2 separate regions of the Homo sapiens genome follow, and region 2 is linked to region 1. Evidence: promoter capture Hi-C in 16 types of primary human blood cells and fetal thymus (Javierre and others, 2016). All regions are on one chromosome and are shown on one strand. The core of a region is centred on a gene start or on the middle of the fragment in contact, and the rest is flanking DNA. Distances in the headings are between cores, read along the strand shown. Region 1 holds the start of LCE3A (late cornified envelope 3A). Region 2 holds the start of LCE2D (late cornified envelope 2D).

Evidence for each region. Contacts are between HindIII fragments. The CHiCAGO score rates a contact against its expected background, and 5 or more counts as called.
Region 2: a contact is called between the fragment with the promoter of LCE2D here and the fragment with the promoter of LCE3A in region 1, in 5 of 17 cell types (naive CD4 T cells, total CD4 T cells, total B cells and 2 more). The highest score is 7.1, in naive CD4 T cells.

Annotation. Positions count from the first base shown.
Region 1 is chr1:152,619,539-152,627,151 of GRCh38, reverse strand. LCE3A (late cornified envelope 3A) reads left to right here and starts at 4,049. Exons shown (of 1, transcript NM_178431.1): 1 at 4,049-4,318. The coding sequence starts at 4,049. The coding sequence ends at 4,318. The HindIII fragment of the contact is 6,916 bases long and covers 1-6,886 here.
Region 2 is chr1:152,660,396-152,667,464 of GRCh38, reverse strand. LCE2D (late cornified envelope 2D) reads right to left here and starts at 4,085. Exons shown (of 2, transcript NM_178430.4): 1 at 4,036-4,085; 2 at 2,806-3,380. The coding sequence starts at 3,359. The coding sequence ends at 3,027. The HindIII fragment of the contact is 10,570 bases long and covers 1-4,617 here.

The DNA of each region.
Region 1 (7,613 bases), core at 2,800-5,299:
TAACATAATCTTGGCTAATTCATATCCTCCATCTTGCACAGACAATGAGTCACTAAGTCTTGAATATGCTTTTCTACAAATCCATTCTGTTCTGTCAGTCCCCTGGCCAGCAACTGATCTCCCTTCCTCCTGCCCTCTTTCAAATAAGTTAAAGGAGAGGGTGTGACTAGATGTTTCCTAAGAAGGGACAGACACATGGATACCTGGAGTCATATAATCTCTAATCCAATGACGGGCTTCTTGGGAATCCCCAGGCTGCTCAGTGGGGACTAAGCCTGAGGAAAGGGTGTTCCTTGGCAAAACTTCATCTCCTCATTGGCAACAAAAAGCAACCACTTGGGAGTTTCCATGGGGCCACCACAGGAGGAATGAGCAAGCACAGGATGCCAGGAAGAGCCTTTACCTGCCCTGCAAGTGTAAGAGGCTTGACCTGCTCCACCGATAGCCATATCACACCTCAGAGCCCAGCCCTGGATCTCCCAGGAAAGGGAGCTTCATCACAAGCCTTTCCTCCAGTCTGCCTCCACAGGTAGGAGTTCTTGTCTGAAACTAGGGAAGTTTCACTGTGGCAGGATTCATAAGTCTTAGAAGAAAAGGTGAAAATGATGGAACAAGAAAAAAAAAAGGAAAGAGATTGGAGAATAAAGAGACGTCCAGACAGAGAAGGAACCGGCCCTGGAATTGTATAGCCTTAAAGGCCAAGGCAAAGTGACTCTCAGCCCAGCCACTATTCAACCTCCCTTGGCTGAGTTTCTGCAAGTAGCCGAGAGCTTGGCCCGGGCCATGTATATCTATGAATACATGTATATGGCTACCTATCTATACTTATCTAGAGAAAAAGAAATCTTAAAGAAATTAATCTGGGTAAAAAATTTTCTTTCTGAAACTTGTTTATTTTACCTATATATTGTCTACAAAATGTGATTTTAATTTCAAAAGGAAACATTTTTTATTATTATTTGATGCATCTGAATAGGTGCTAAATAGATCCTGCTGAGATAAGCTGCCAATAAAGCCATCAGCCATACCAAACACCTATCAAGTGCTTCACTCCTAAGTAATTCACCAAGTGCGTTCTAAAGTGACTACCTTTGACCAGCTCCAAGTCCTCTTCCAGGCTCATCTCACCATGGCTCCAGCTCTAGGAGCAGCTCAGATGCCTGAGCTGATCCCACCAGTGTTACTACCTATGGTCATGGTATTGCAGTGGTCAGTGGTGGGAGCTTCCGTTGCTGCCACAGGTCAGTAGGACTGCTGCTGATCTGGGCCTGGCAGTCTCAGAAGAAGAGCATTAGGTGAACCAACAATTCAAGAGATAAGTACTTTCCCTGCTCTGAAGGTATCACAGCCCATTCTCCTCAACCTTTTGGGCTGTGTCTGGAAAAGGCATTTGGTTCAGACAAGGATTAAGTCTGCAGGAGGCCCAGATTTCACTAACAGCATGCTTCCCTCAAGGTGATCCCCTCCTGTCCTTCTCTCACACCCATTCCACCAGCAAAGTCAGTGCAGCAGTGCGAAGAGATCTATGTTTCCTTTACGCTCTTCTCATTCACAACACCCAGTGTGGCATTTCAAAAGTGCCCATTCACATCCTTTGCAATTGTCTCTTTTTATTATTATATCCTCTGAGGGAAGGAAGTAGGAGTACTTAAGGATATAAGGGCAAAGTTACTTCCAGCATAGCTCTGACACTAAAACTTAACAAAGCCTTGAGGACCCCATTCAGCATGTTCCTAAAAACATGCTTCTGGCACACCTGTCCTAGCCTTTCACCAGCTTTCCACCAGGAATTCCCACTCTTCCATTCATAATTCTGCAGAACTATTTTTTTTTTTTGAGACAGTCTTGCTCTGTCACCCAAGCTGGAGTGCAGTTGCGCGATCTCAGCTCATTGCAACCTCTGCCTCCCCAGCTCAAGCGATTCTCCTGCCTCAGCCTCCCGAGTAGCTAGGATTACAGATGCCCACCACCACACCCAGCTAATTTTTGTATTTTTAGTAGAGACGGGGTTTTGCCGTGTTGAACAGGCTGGTCTTGAACTCCTGACCTCATAGAACTCTTAAAAGAATGCATGGTATTGCAGTTTGTTCAAAGTGGAGTGATAGGCAAAGGGGAAGAAGGAACTAATATCCTCTAGCAGTGTATTTTGTACCAAAGAACAAGCATCTTCAGGCTTTCATATACTCTGATCAAAATAACATTTTGCTTAAAATTACAATATAATTTAAATTCATGATTATTAGAAACTTAATATTGTCTCAATTGTGATTATTTTCCTTGGAAGAATATATAGTATAATAAAGATTATTTTAAAATTCATTACAGTGGTTTTTATTTAGAGGCTATGGCATATTGTATTGTATTATTAGAGATGAATTCACTGATAAATTTATCACTGATATAACTAAAACCAAATAGTAAATAATATTCCATTTTTATGAATTCATCATATACAAACTTCAAGCATTATCACAGGTATTCATTAAGTGAAATGCATACAACCCCATCAACCTCATCATTATCAACAAATTCAAAGAAATTTTAATGAATTACTAACATAATATATAGGATTAAATTCAGCCTTGCACATTTCACAGACAGCCAAAAACGGATGCCCCTTTTTTCCCATTAAGTGTGATTTCTGTTGATCCCACAGATGGAGGTCACATTTTTATACCATCTGCACCTCCCTCCACTCTACCCCTCTGCCCCCACAGTGCCCAATGCCACCTTTAAGATGCCATGATATTCCCTGAAGACACTACCTCTCAAGCCATGGCCCCAGCTCCATTCTTCCACCCCTTACTCAACCCAGGTCCAGTGAGCTCAGTGCAGCCAACATCTCAGGACACAGGGGCTGATTCCATCACCTATGTAAAGGAATCCACAAAGCAATGGGGACTGACACCCAAAGGCAGTGACCCCAGCCTGCCATGTTTGTGCACACTTGTGCTGCGTCGCTTAGCACATAGGATGTGATTTAATTGCTCAGTTGTCCATCTGGCCTTCTGAAAAGCTGTGAGCTAGTCAAGGGGAGAAATGTGTTCTGTTTGTCCCCATATTACCAGGCCCCACAAAGGACGTACCCTGGCTTCAGAGCATGTGAGCTGAATGAAGAAAAAAAAGTGGAACAGCAGCCAGAGGGCCTGAACGGTGGATAATTGGACCGTCATCGAGATTTCCTGCTTCCCTTTTGTCATTCCTCAAAATATGCGCCTTAAGAATATGCTGAAAGCCTGGTCCTTGGGAGTGTGTGGTGCTTCCCCTCCCTTTGGGGAGCAAAGGAGGACACATAGTTGGGCTGTGCATCATAATACCCAGGATAAAAGGGCTGAGGCCCTGGGTTCCTCAGTCCACAATCACCTCAGGAAGAACCTTCTCCTGCCTCCACCAAACCAGGTGAGCGTCCAGCTGGCGAGAGGACCTGGGCTGAAAGGGCTGCGCAAACACGTCTGTGCTTCAACAAGGAGAGGGGAGGAGGCAGACACGGTGGAGGCGGCAGAGAGGCTGTGGTGGGTGGCCGGCTGGGACTGGGATGGGAGATGGGCGGGATAGTGAGGAAGACAGACAAGTCTGCGAGCCACTTCAGGGGCTCCGCGATGCTGCGACCTCTGAACCCCCTTTTCCTCATGTGCGCAGAGATGCGTTGCCTCCTCACACCCTGCGCTCACAGGCGTCCAGAGAGACGCCACCCTGGAGGGTCATGGGCGTTGTGTTCACGGGACGCCTGCAGGGGGAGCTGTTCGCATCGGGTCCGGAGGTGTGACAGGCCCCGCAGGGCGTGCGCAGGAGCCCCAGAGGCCCACCCAGGAGTGTCAGCTGCCTCCCAGGCAGGGGAGAGGGCCGGAGGAAGGGGCAGTATCAGGCCGGTTTAACTTCAGATCCGTTTGCATTCCCCTTCCCCAGGTCTTAGCTGGAGGGCAGACTGAGTTTAGGGGAAGGGATCCACAATTAAACCAAAGCATGAGGAGGCCCTGGCCTGAAACCTGCATTGACACGTATTTTGCTTTGCTTTTATTTTGCCCAGGCTCCCTGACCTCCTGCCTAGATGTCCTGCCAGCAGAACCAGCAGCAGTGCCAGCCTCCGCCCAAGTGCCCTGCAAAGAGCCCAGCACAGTGTCTGCCTCCAGCTTCCTCCAGCTGTGCCCCAAGCTCTGGGGGCTGTGGGCCCAGCTCCGAGCGCAGCTGCTGCCTGAGTCACCACAGATGCCGCAGGTCTCACCGTTGCCGTTGCCAGAGCTCCAACTCCTGTGACAGGGGAAGTGGTCAGCAAGGCGGGAGCTCCAGCTGTGGCCACAGTTCTGCGGGCTGCTGCTGACCTGAGCCACGAGATTAAGTAAAAATATTTGAGAAAAGAAAGTGCCAAAATGACTGGAACCAGCCCTAGCCTGGTGCTTCTTTGCTCCTGTCTCCTCTTTCCTACTGAGATGTTCCTTGATGAGTTTCAAGTACTCCCCCAGGGGATTTATCCTGCTGGTCTTAGTGTTTTCCCTCCTTCTTTAATATCCCTGTGCTGTGAAGAATAAAGCTGTGCTTTCTCGTTGCAAGCTCTGTCCAGTGCGTTCCCGTCTTTGCCTTACAGGGGCTGCCCCACATTGGGTACATAGGCCTATCTTAGGAACAGACACAAGTGGGTCATACACCCCTCAACTCACAAAACCCTTTTAGGGGGGTTGTATATTAGTGTGGGAATGAGGTGAGCAGTCTTTCACAAGGTCAAGGACAGAAGCATGAGTTGGAAATAAACACAGAGCTCTGGAAAACAAAGGGAATGAGCTTACTGGGCCCGTTCAGATCCTTCCGAAAACACTTTGGTAGCTCAGCCCTAGATGGCAGAGAAGAAGAGAAGCTCCAGATGGGAGCAGGTCCTTGGTCCTCTGGTTCCTCCAACTCTGATACTCTGTAGTCTTCATGACCCAGGACCACAGCAGCCCCCAGAGCTGTGGCAGCAACTGGAGCCTCCAGAATGCTCTGTTGGGCATGTCAGTGGGATCTGTGGGCCCATGGTGACTCCGGTAGCAGCTTCCTGCAGAGCTGGAACCACAACAGAAATAGACTGGCAGCAAACAACCAAAAGGATACTTGAGGGTTAGGCACTTGGGAGGGGGCTGACAGTGCTGTTAGTTTTTCCTTTCAGGACATCTCAGCTCAGTGATCCCTGGAAGAAATGAAAAAGTAAATCATTGTTTTCTATCTATCTATCTATCTATCTATCTATCTATCTATCTATCTATCTATCTATCTCTATCTACCTATCTGTCTCCCCTTGTCCCTCACCGTCTTTCTCAGACCCTGACCCTATGACCCTAAGCTCACGTTTTTGCTAACCTAAGGGCAGCAGGGAAACAGGGCCTTGGGCAGGGATGAATTGGCTCAGAATGTTTGCTGATCAAGGTATTTTCTCCTCCTACTTTGATTTAGAATCAGAAAAAAAGGAGATGGGACATGGAGAGTGATGATAGTGATGGACTCTACTCCAAGTAACAGCTCTTCAAACTCTAGCCCCTCAGTAGGAAATTCAATAATTATTCAGTAGATGCCCAGATGTTTTCTGATAGAAGGGAACCAGGAAGTCCCTGTAACACCCAAATATCTGGCCTTGATTATCAAGACTGTTGAAAACTAATTGTCTATACTATTTTATTCATTAATTAATTCATTCAAACAACAGGAATTGAGGACACAGTTCAGATATATGTTGACACAAAGGACTCAGAAATGTGTGAAATATGATTCCCATCCTTGAGATGCCGACTGACAAGTCAGCAATCCACTTATGAGCTGGAATGATATGGACTGTTACATAAGTGTGTGGGAAGTCCATGGGACTTATCCTTTGGATGGTAACCCCCTGTTTCCCTGACAAGAGTGAAGTGTCCAGACATTGTCACTAGTATCATTTGTGGGTGTTGGGTGAGGTTTCTGGCCTGCAAAATGACCTTTGATGGTCCTGTGATGGCCTAGCTAAAGTGACTAAGAGGAACTAATGGGACCCAAGAGCCAGGAGTCCCTGGGCAGAAGGTTTCCTGGCAGAGGGAGGAAATGAAGCTGCCCTTTGAGAGAAGTTGGATCTGAAAGGGAAGCAAGCTAAGATAATGGGAGGCAGAATAGTGTGCAGGCCAAGAACATGGGCACTGGAGTCGGACATTCCCATTGCCTCCCCTCTTTTAAATACCAGGAGAAACCTTGAAGAGTCTAGGGGAAAACAAAGCTAAAAAATAAAGGCAAAATGAACCAGAAATGCTGGAATTAAAAGCTGAGCCACCAATTAGCAGTCTAGATCTGTGACATGACAGACTTGCAAATCTAGCAGTCTAGATCTGTGACATGACAGACATTGCTTCAGCATTTACTTGACTGCACTATTGATCCAAGAGATAGGAATGGTTCAGACACAGGGATGCTCATATCACATTGGCCAGAACGCTTTAGGAAAAAGGAGGGATTGAATGATAATTGATGGGAGAAAAAATAAAGTGATGGACAATAGTGGTAATTAAGTTTATTTCACCAGTGTTTCTGCTGAATATAAATGACAGATGTATACTATTTTCCCATTGCATTTAATTTTTTTTAGGTGGAGTCTCACTCTGTCTCCAGGGCTGGAGTGCAGTGGCATGATATCTGCTCACTGCAACCTCCCAGGTTCAAGTGATTCTCCTGCCTCAGCCTCCTGAGTAGCTGAAACTACCACGAGCCACCACGCCTGGTTAATTTTTGTATTTTTAGTAGAGATGGGGTTTCACCATGTTGGCCAGGAATTAGATAATTATCTGGCATATGTAAATAACTTTGATATATTTTGGTAAGACATCATTATTGCAGCAATAGTTCTGAACATTCTAGTTCCATAAAGGTTATAGGAGTGGCCACCCTCTTCAAAGCTTGAATATGTTACAAGCATGACCAAAATCTGAGTCTTTTCAAAACACTGTGGGAACATTAATTTATACTAGGGCTTCAGCAACATGTAGAGTGAACTGACAAGAGGGTGAGGATTTGGCTGATACCTATTTGTGATGATTTTAAAGCATGGTTCAAATTTTTTTTGACATTCCTCTCATTGAGAAGTTAGGCCTATGTCCACTTACCTTGAATCTAAGCGGGCTTGTAACTCCTTTAACCAAATGAATATGGTTGAAATATGCTATGTGACTTCAAAGGCTGGGTCACAAAAGGTCATGCAGATTCCACCTGGTCCTCTTAGGAGGCTGTCTCTGGGGAAGCCAGTTACCATGTAAAAAGTCTCGCTATTCTAAGACCATCATGCAAGAGAGGCCAGATGTAGGTCCTCCAGGTGACAACCCCAGAAGAGGGCTCAGCTGGCATCCAGCATCAACAGCCAACCATCTGAGTGAGACTTCTTGGATGTCCAGCCCAGTCAGCCTTCAGATGACCACAGCTCCAATCAACATCTGACGACAAATGCATGAAATGAGAATTGCCCTGCTGAGTCCTTTCTGAATTTGTGACCCATAAAATTGTGAGAAAACCAAGATGGCTGTCATTCCAATCACTTAGTGTATTGTTTCACATCACTAAGTTTTGGGGTGATTTGTTATGTAACAATAGGACACCCACTGATTTTCTGCCATCAGCAACTTATGTTCTTC
Region 2 (7,069 bases), core at 2,836-5,335, 40 kb before region 1:
ATAACCCAACTCAGAGTTAATCATCTGTCACCCTCCAACTCTAGATACCTTTGAAAGAGATGAAGCCATAACACCAAATATGTTTTCTTCTTGCACACTTCTCAGAGTCTCACCCTCTTCCTGCCCTTGAGAGATGATCCAGACCCCTGGTTCTTGGCCCACAGCTGGGTGATGGATGGATTAGAGATGGGGAGACAGGCAGAAGTAACTCTTAGCCTACCCCAGGCATCCATAAGCCAGGTCTTGTGCCTGTCTGCAGGGAGCTCCCCACAGCACTCCAGACCTCAGCCTCACCAGGGAATTCCCCTGCCTAATCAACCTTCCATGCAGGCTTGCCTCAGTGCATACAGCAGAGCCCATGGAGGTGGAACTGTGGGCAGGATGTTCCTGAATGTTTGTGTTAAGAGGTAATTGAAGTGCACTCAGAGAGTCTGTGTCACTATTTCGAGATAACCAGCAATCCAGCTGTCTTTACTCAGCAGGTCAAACTGTATAGAAAATTACTTAATTGGATAGTGCCCAACATACATGCCCCCTTCATTCTTAACTTATATCTTTAAATTTTGACCAGAACCAAATCATGTTCAGATATCAAAATTTACACTTCTCCATCCCCCTTGTATGTACAAGCAGCCAGTGAGATTCAGGAAATTGTTGGGACTTTAGGAAAGCTCAGGTAAGAGGCTTTACTGGGGTCAGGGCCTTTTACCCACCCTTTCTCCTTCTTCCTACCTGAAGCACAGCCTTGCAGATCAGAACTCTATCAGGCACCTCGAGATCACCAACTACCTCCCAGGAAACAACTGCTAACAATGAATTGACAAGACATAGGGGTATCCATCTTTGAAGACTCCAGGGAACCACCGTACCAGCCATGGACCACTGACCTCTGACTTCATCATATGTGAGTGGAAATAGTCTGCTTTCCTTTTTAAATTGCTGTAATTTTGAGTTCCTCTGATAGCATCCGAACATAATTTTCTAACACACCTGCACACATGCCAAACACAAAGTAAGATGCAGCTAAAAACAAATGTTAGAATGGATAAAGAAAATATGGCACATATGCACCATGGAATACTATGCAGCCATAAAAAAGGATGAGTTCATGTCCTTTGGGGGGACATGGATGAATCTGGAAACCATTATTCTCAGCAAACTAACACAGGAACAGAAAACCAAACACTGCATGTTCACAATCATAAGTGTGAGTTGAAAAATGAGAACACATGGACACATGGAGGGGAACATCACACACCAGGGCCTGTCAGTGGGTAGGGGGCTAGGGGAGGGATAGCATTAGCAGAGATACCTAATGTAGTTGACAGGTTGATGGGTGCAGCAAACCACCATGGCACGTGTATACCTATGTAACAAACCTGCACGTTCTGCACATGTATCCCAGAACTTAAAGCATAATTTAAAACAAAAAAAGTTAGATGGGAAATTATTCTGTGTATGGAGGGTTAGATAGAGAAAGGAAGTTGCTCACTATGAAAGGAGCACATGGAGGCCCAGATAGCAGGCCCACTGGGGAAGGGAATGGCCGGTGGGTTGCTCTTACTTAAGGCAGAGGTCCCTGAAAGCACACTTGGGTGTCCACCTCTCTGTAGGCCAGCCTTCAACTGCCCCGGGCAACCTTAGGTCCCATGCTTGGCACTCCATTTTGTACTGTTTGGTTTTTTCATTTGTTTTGCTGCTCACATGTAAACACTAAGGACAAGGGAAAACTTCTTAACCAACTCAGGAAACCCTGAAGCTATAAAAGCGAAGAAAGTCATATTTGAGTATATAAAAACTAAAAATCTTTCCATAGCAAAAGCTATTATAAATGGATTCAATTAAATCTGATGCATTAAATATTTTAATAAACACAGATCAAGGTTAATATCCATGATATATCAAGAGCTCTTGAAAATTGAAAAGAAAATTTAAAATCATATTACAAATTTTGTAGAAATGGCCAATGTACATATTTTTAGAAGCTCAAAATTACTACTGGTCAGGGACTTGAAAATTCAGTTAATAATGAGACTGGAAAAAATAATGAAGAGCATCAAGTCAAATAAACTGACTCAGTGCAGTGGGTGATTTAAAATGCGGAGAGTACAGAATCTCAGACTGGTTAAACAGCTGGGTGTTTGTCTTAGCAGCAGTAAGGATGAGGAGGCAGATGAACATCTTAATAAGAGACTCCACCTCTGACAGAATCTCTCTGCACTGAATCCATCATCTTCATGTAGACACCTGTCAGCCTGAACCTAAGAAGCACTAGTCCTTATTTCCCCCTGCTGTGTCCCTTTTCCCTTCACACTGAGAGGAAGAGACGCCAGGTGTCTGAGAGAGCAAGTCAAGAAGTGAATCTTAACCAGACTCACCCTCCTGGGAAGGGAGTTCACTGACCATGGGCTGTACTTTGCAGGAGGAGGGGTCTCAACATTCGTTTCAAGCATTTTATTCAACTATTGATTCGAACAGCAGGGAAGTTTTGCTTCATAGAGATGTGTTCTTCTCCCTAGAGAAGAACAAGTCTACAGAGCTTCCCAACCTTCCCAATGTCTGGAATACACAGAAAATTAGAACATATGTCTGGCTTAGTGGGGACAAAGTCAAAGCTGCCGTTGCCAGAGGTGATCATCTTGGAGCTCCATCTACCCTGCAGTTGGGGTAATCAGTTCCTCGGAGCAGCCTTTCATGTATCACTTGCTCATGTCCTGTCCTTGCCTCATGAAGAGAATTTCTCTGGGGCCCTGACCGTTAGAAGACATTAGAAATCTCAGAAGAGAAGAGTATGACCAAGACATTTAAAGAGTCAGAAATCAGAGCTTTATTACAATATGAGGTAAAGGAGAAAAAGAAGGCTTCCATCTGGGGTGCTCCATCAAGCACAAAGTTCTGGGGAAGCCCCATGAGTCTTTGTGGTCCCTGTCCACCCATGAGTGGAATGAAAGGAAGGGGAAATAGTTAAGCATCAGGCTGTAGCAGGTTTTTGACCATTCAGTACCAGAGCTCTTCTGCAGCCCAGGTCAGCAGCAGCCCCCAGAGCTGTGGCAGCAGCCAGAGGCCCCAGAAGGTTCACTCTCACAGCAATCGGGGCTCTGGTGCCGGCGCCGGTGGAAGAGACGGGGCCTGTGGTGGCTCAGGCAGCAGCCACCACCCCCAGAGCTGCAGCAGCCCCCAGAGCTGGGACCACAGCAGCTCCCAGAGCTGGGACCACAGCAGGAAGAGACTGCAGGGGAACATGGAGCTGGGCACTGTGGTGGGCATTTGGGGGGACACTTAGGTGGACATTTTGGGGTACACTTGGGAGGACATTTGGGAGGGGGCTGGCACTGCTGCTGGTTTTGCTGGCAAGACATCCTGGCAGGAGTTTAGTCAACCTAAAAGATAATAATGAAACTCTTTAAATATTTCAAACCAAAGGTCATAATTATGCCTCCTCTAAAATCAATGCATGTGTAGAAGAAGAATGATATTTAGGTAATACAGTCACATCAGTAACCTGAAAGAAACAACTTGAATCTTTCTTCCAGATAAAAGTACATAGATTAAAAAATCAACAGAATGAGCTTCATATTCTTCCTTTCAGAGGGAAGCTGGGATTGCTCTATCTTCACAAGCCTGAATAGAGTATTCACAGCTCCATGAAGTACCTGTTCTCTTAATACAAGCCCCAGCGCCCAGATGGGTGCTGTAGACACACCAGGGATCCTCTGGAAAATGTTTAGCCATGAAAACTCCAGGTAAAAGGGCCTGGCCTGAAGCATTTGACAATTTCCATGGTGCAAATCTGCCCAAGATGGCCAACATGAAGTCATTGAAGACAGAGTTGGGAAAGATGGGCACAGTTAGCTATTCCCTTCTACGTGAGCTCCAGCAAGTCCCAGAGCTTCTAGAGATTTGAGGCAAACTGAGTCCTATTCCTGCTCAGTATGGGAGAACACAAGCGCACAACTATCTTTCTCCAGCCTACCTCCATCCTCCCCATCCCTCTACCTTGCTAATACCCTTCTGGTATCCCAGGTTGCCACTCACCCTGGTCACATGCAAAAGCACAGACACGTCCCTGGGGAGTCAGAGCAGATGAGGTGCTGAAGCTGGATGTGTCTTTTATAGGACTCAGACTTGGCTCTGGGAAGAGCAGGAGGTGGCTCTTGCACAACCAGGCACGTGCTGGGTCATTCCTGACATTCTCCTGTCTCCTAGTCCCTGCACCCAAAGAGGCCTCGGGAGCTTCTAGGACTCCTCTCTGGGGCTGTGGTCTAGAGAGGCTTTAGCCAGTCAGAGCCTCCAGCAGGTGGGAGCCCTAAAGAGTTAACTTAGGGAACCCAAGGCACCCATGCCTGGACATGGTTCTGTTCCTTGCATCTTTTTTATTCCTGTCCTCTGAGGTTACATCAGCTCTGAGCCACAGCATTCCCTGACCTTGTGGAAATGTTCCATTATGACTCCCTGCACCTTGAGCAGTTTGTCTTCCATGTCCTGCTGTGCATCCAGCCATCCCAGGGGGCTTCTACAGCCTTGGCTCTTTCTAGGCATCCCTCCCTTGACTAGGCTCACAGTCCTTCCTCTCGGCCTCTGAGTTTCTGCTTTTCCTCAGACTCATCATGACAAGCTTTCACTGAATTAAATCTGAGTTGATTCTGTCTCCTAGAGCAAGGAGAATGATTGAGAATAAGCAATTCCCTCTAAAATCTAAACGTTTCCTTTAGTCGAAGCAATTGTATTGAATCCATTGCCGGAATCAGGAAACTTGCATATGATAACTTGGTAACCTATAGAAGTAGCTAGAACAATTATCAACAATTGCTAGAGTGTCATTATGATACTCACTATGAGTATCAGTTCTCATATGTAATGGCCATTATAAACCAGATATACCTATCTCACTGAGCTGTTTTGAATATTAAATAAGAAGTAAGAAAAAACTTGGTACAACACTATATGCCTGATAGACCCTTAATAAATATGTGTTTCAAAGAAAACTAATGCCATGTGTTGGGTACTTGCCCAGGTCTTATGTGTCATTAATTGCCTGTATAGAGTCCTTACCCTCAGAGGGTTTAATTCAATCAGACACTGAGATTATTTGAAACCTCTCTTGGGAAGTACACATCATTTCTTGGGGCTCCTATGCAGAGGGAACTCCTTTCCTACCAGGAAGTAGAGGGTCAGCCAGGGGTCTAGTTATTCAGAGTTCTGATTCAGGGTTGCACTAGACAGAGTTACCCAGTCATTTATTCATTTAGTTTAAACAGATACATTGAGTGTGAACCTTGAAAACATTACACTAAGTGAAAGAAGCCAGTCATAAAAGACTGCATATTGTATGATGTTATTTATATGAAATGTGTAGAGTAGGCAAATCTCTGGAAATGAAAGGGGATGAGGCTTTAGCCAGTTACAGCCTCTCCCAGGCTGGACCCCTGAAGAGCTGACTCAGGACATCCGAGGAATGGGAGCCTGGACGAGATTCTGTTCCCTGTATCTCCTTTTATGTTTATGCCTGTCCTCTGAGAAATATCAGTGGCTTCCAGGTGCTTTAGCGGGCTGGGAGAAATTGGGAAGTTACTGCCAATGAATACAGGTTTTCTTTGTGGAGTAATGACAATGTTCTAAAATTGTGGTGGTGATTGTCCAACTCTGTGAATATACTGAAAACCATTGAATTTACACTTTAAACAAGTGAACTATACAATATGTGAATTACGTCTCAATAAAGATGTTAAAATTAGAATTGAAAAAAATATTCACACCTCTGATTAAAACAGAAACAGACCGCGCCTTCACATTGCCTAATGCCTACTTATGGGGGAGGGGAGGATGCGGAGAAAGTATAGTTTCCCATTGTCAGCTTCTAACTGAGGGATTCTATTCTCCTAGTTATCCAATCCTATTATCAGATCTGATTCCTGCTCTCAGGGAGCTTTTACCTGAAGGATAAAGTAAGTCAACAGTGTGACCAGGGCAGTGAATTCAAAAGGCATTCTTTGAAAGCCTACAACATTCTTGGATCATGTATGTCCAAACATACGGATATAGAGGTGAATAATAAGTAGCCCATGACCTCAAGGACTGTAGAATTTTGGCCCTTTTGAAGATGACTGCAGACAAACATGGGTACCAAAGAAGATGACGTTTGGGGACTGAACCTCCTGAGTCACTATTTCCCAATGTGATTAAAAGATGTTAGTTCATTCCACTGTCTTCATGGTGATATCACCCTCAGCTTCCTCATACTCTTTGACAAAGATATTTGTAACAATGTTGTAAGTGAGGAAGTAGGGGAGGCAAGCCTGTGTGTGCGTGTGTGCATGTGTGCACTGTATGTGTGTATGCTGTATTCATATAAAAGTGCAGGTGAAATGAACATGCAGATACATGAACATCTGTATTGAGTGGTTGAATAAGCAATGGAAGAGCTAATGGGATCTGATCCCCTGGGAAACCAGAACTGGGAGATAAGCAGCTCTTTAACATGTCCCCTTTGTCCCTTTATAACTCAGAAAATGTTGAGAATTGGTTCACAAGTCAGTGAAGAAACACCTGCCTGCAAGTATTCTTGCTTCTGTCTCCACAGTCCTCACACCATCATATGTGATCCCTCTGAGCCAGGAGACCCTGTGTCAAGTTGCCCATGTTCCCTCAGGGACCAGCCAAACCATTGCCACACGAATGTTGGCAGGATCAATGCATGATTGCAAGACCTCATGAAGGAGCACATAGGTGTCATAAGAAGAATGGCCTGGGGGTGATTTCAGACATTTCATCTGAAGTTCACCTCATCTGGAAAGTCAGTATCCTGCAGGCTGGTCTCTCCATGTAGCTCCTTGATTTGTCTCCCTGGGAGCTTAAACTGCATATATTCCAGAAAATTATTCCCCATGAAATGCTGGAAATTTATTTTAGCCACAGTACAAGAAAAAGCCTTACCATGTATCTTGATGTATCTCACCTTATTTAATAGATTCACTAGTCCAAATTTTCCCTTTACTATATCTTTGTAGTCCTTTTGATCTTCTTGTTGATACTGTCTGGCACTGTCTGGTTTGGGCCTGTTTTCACTCCC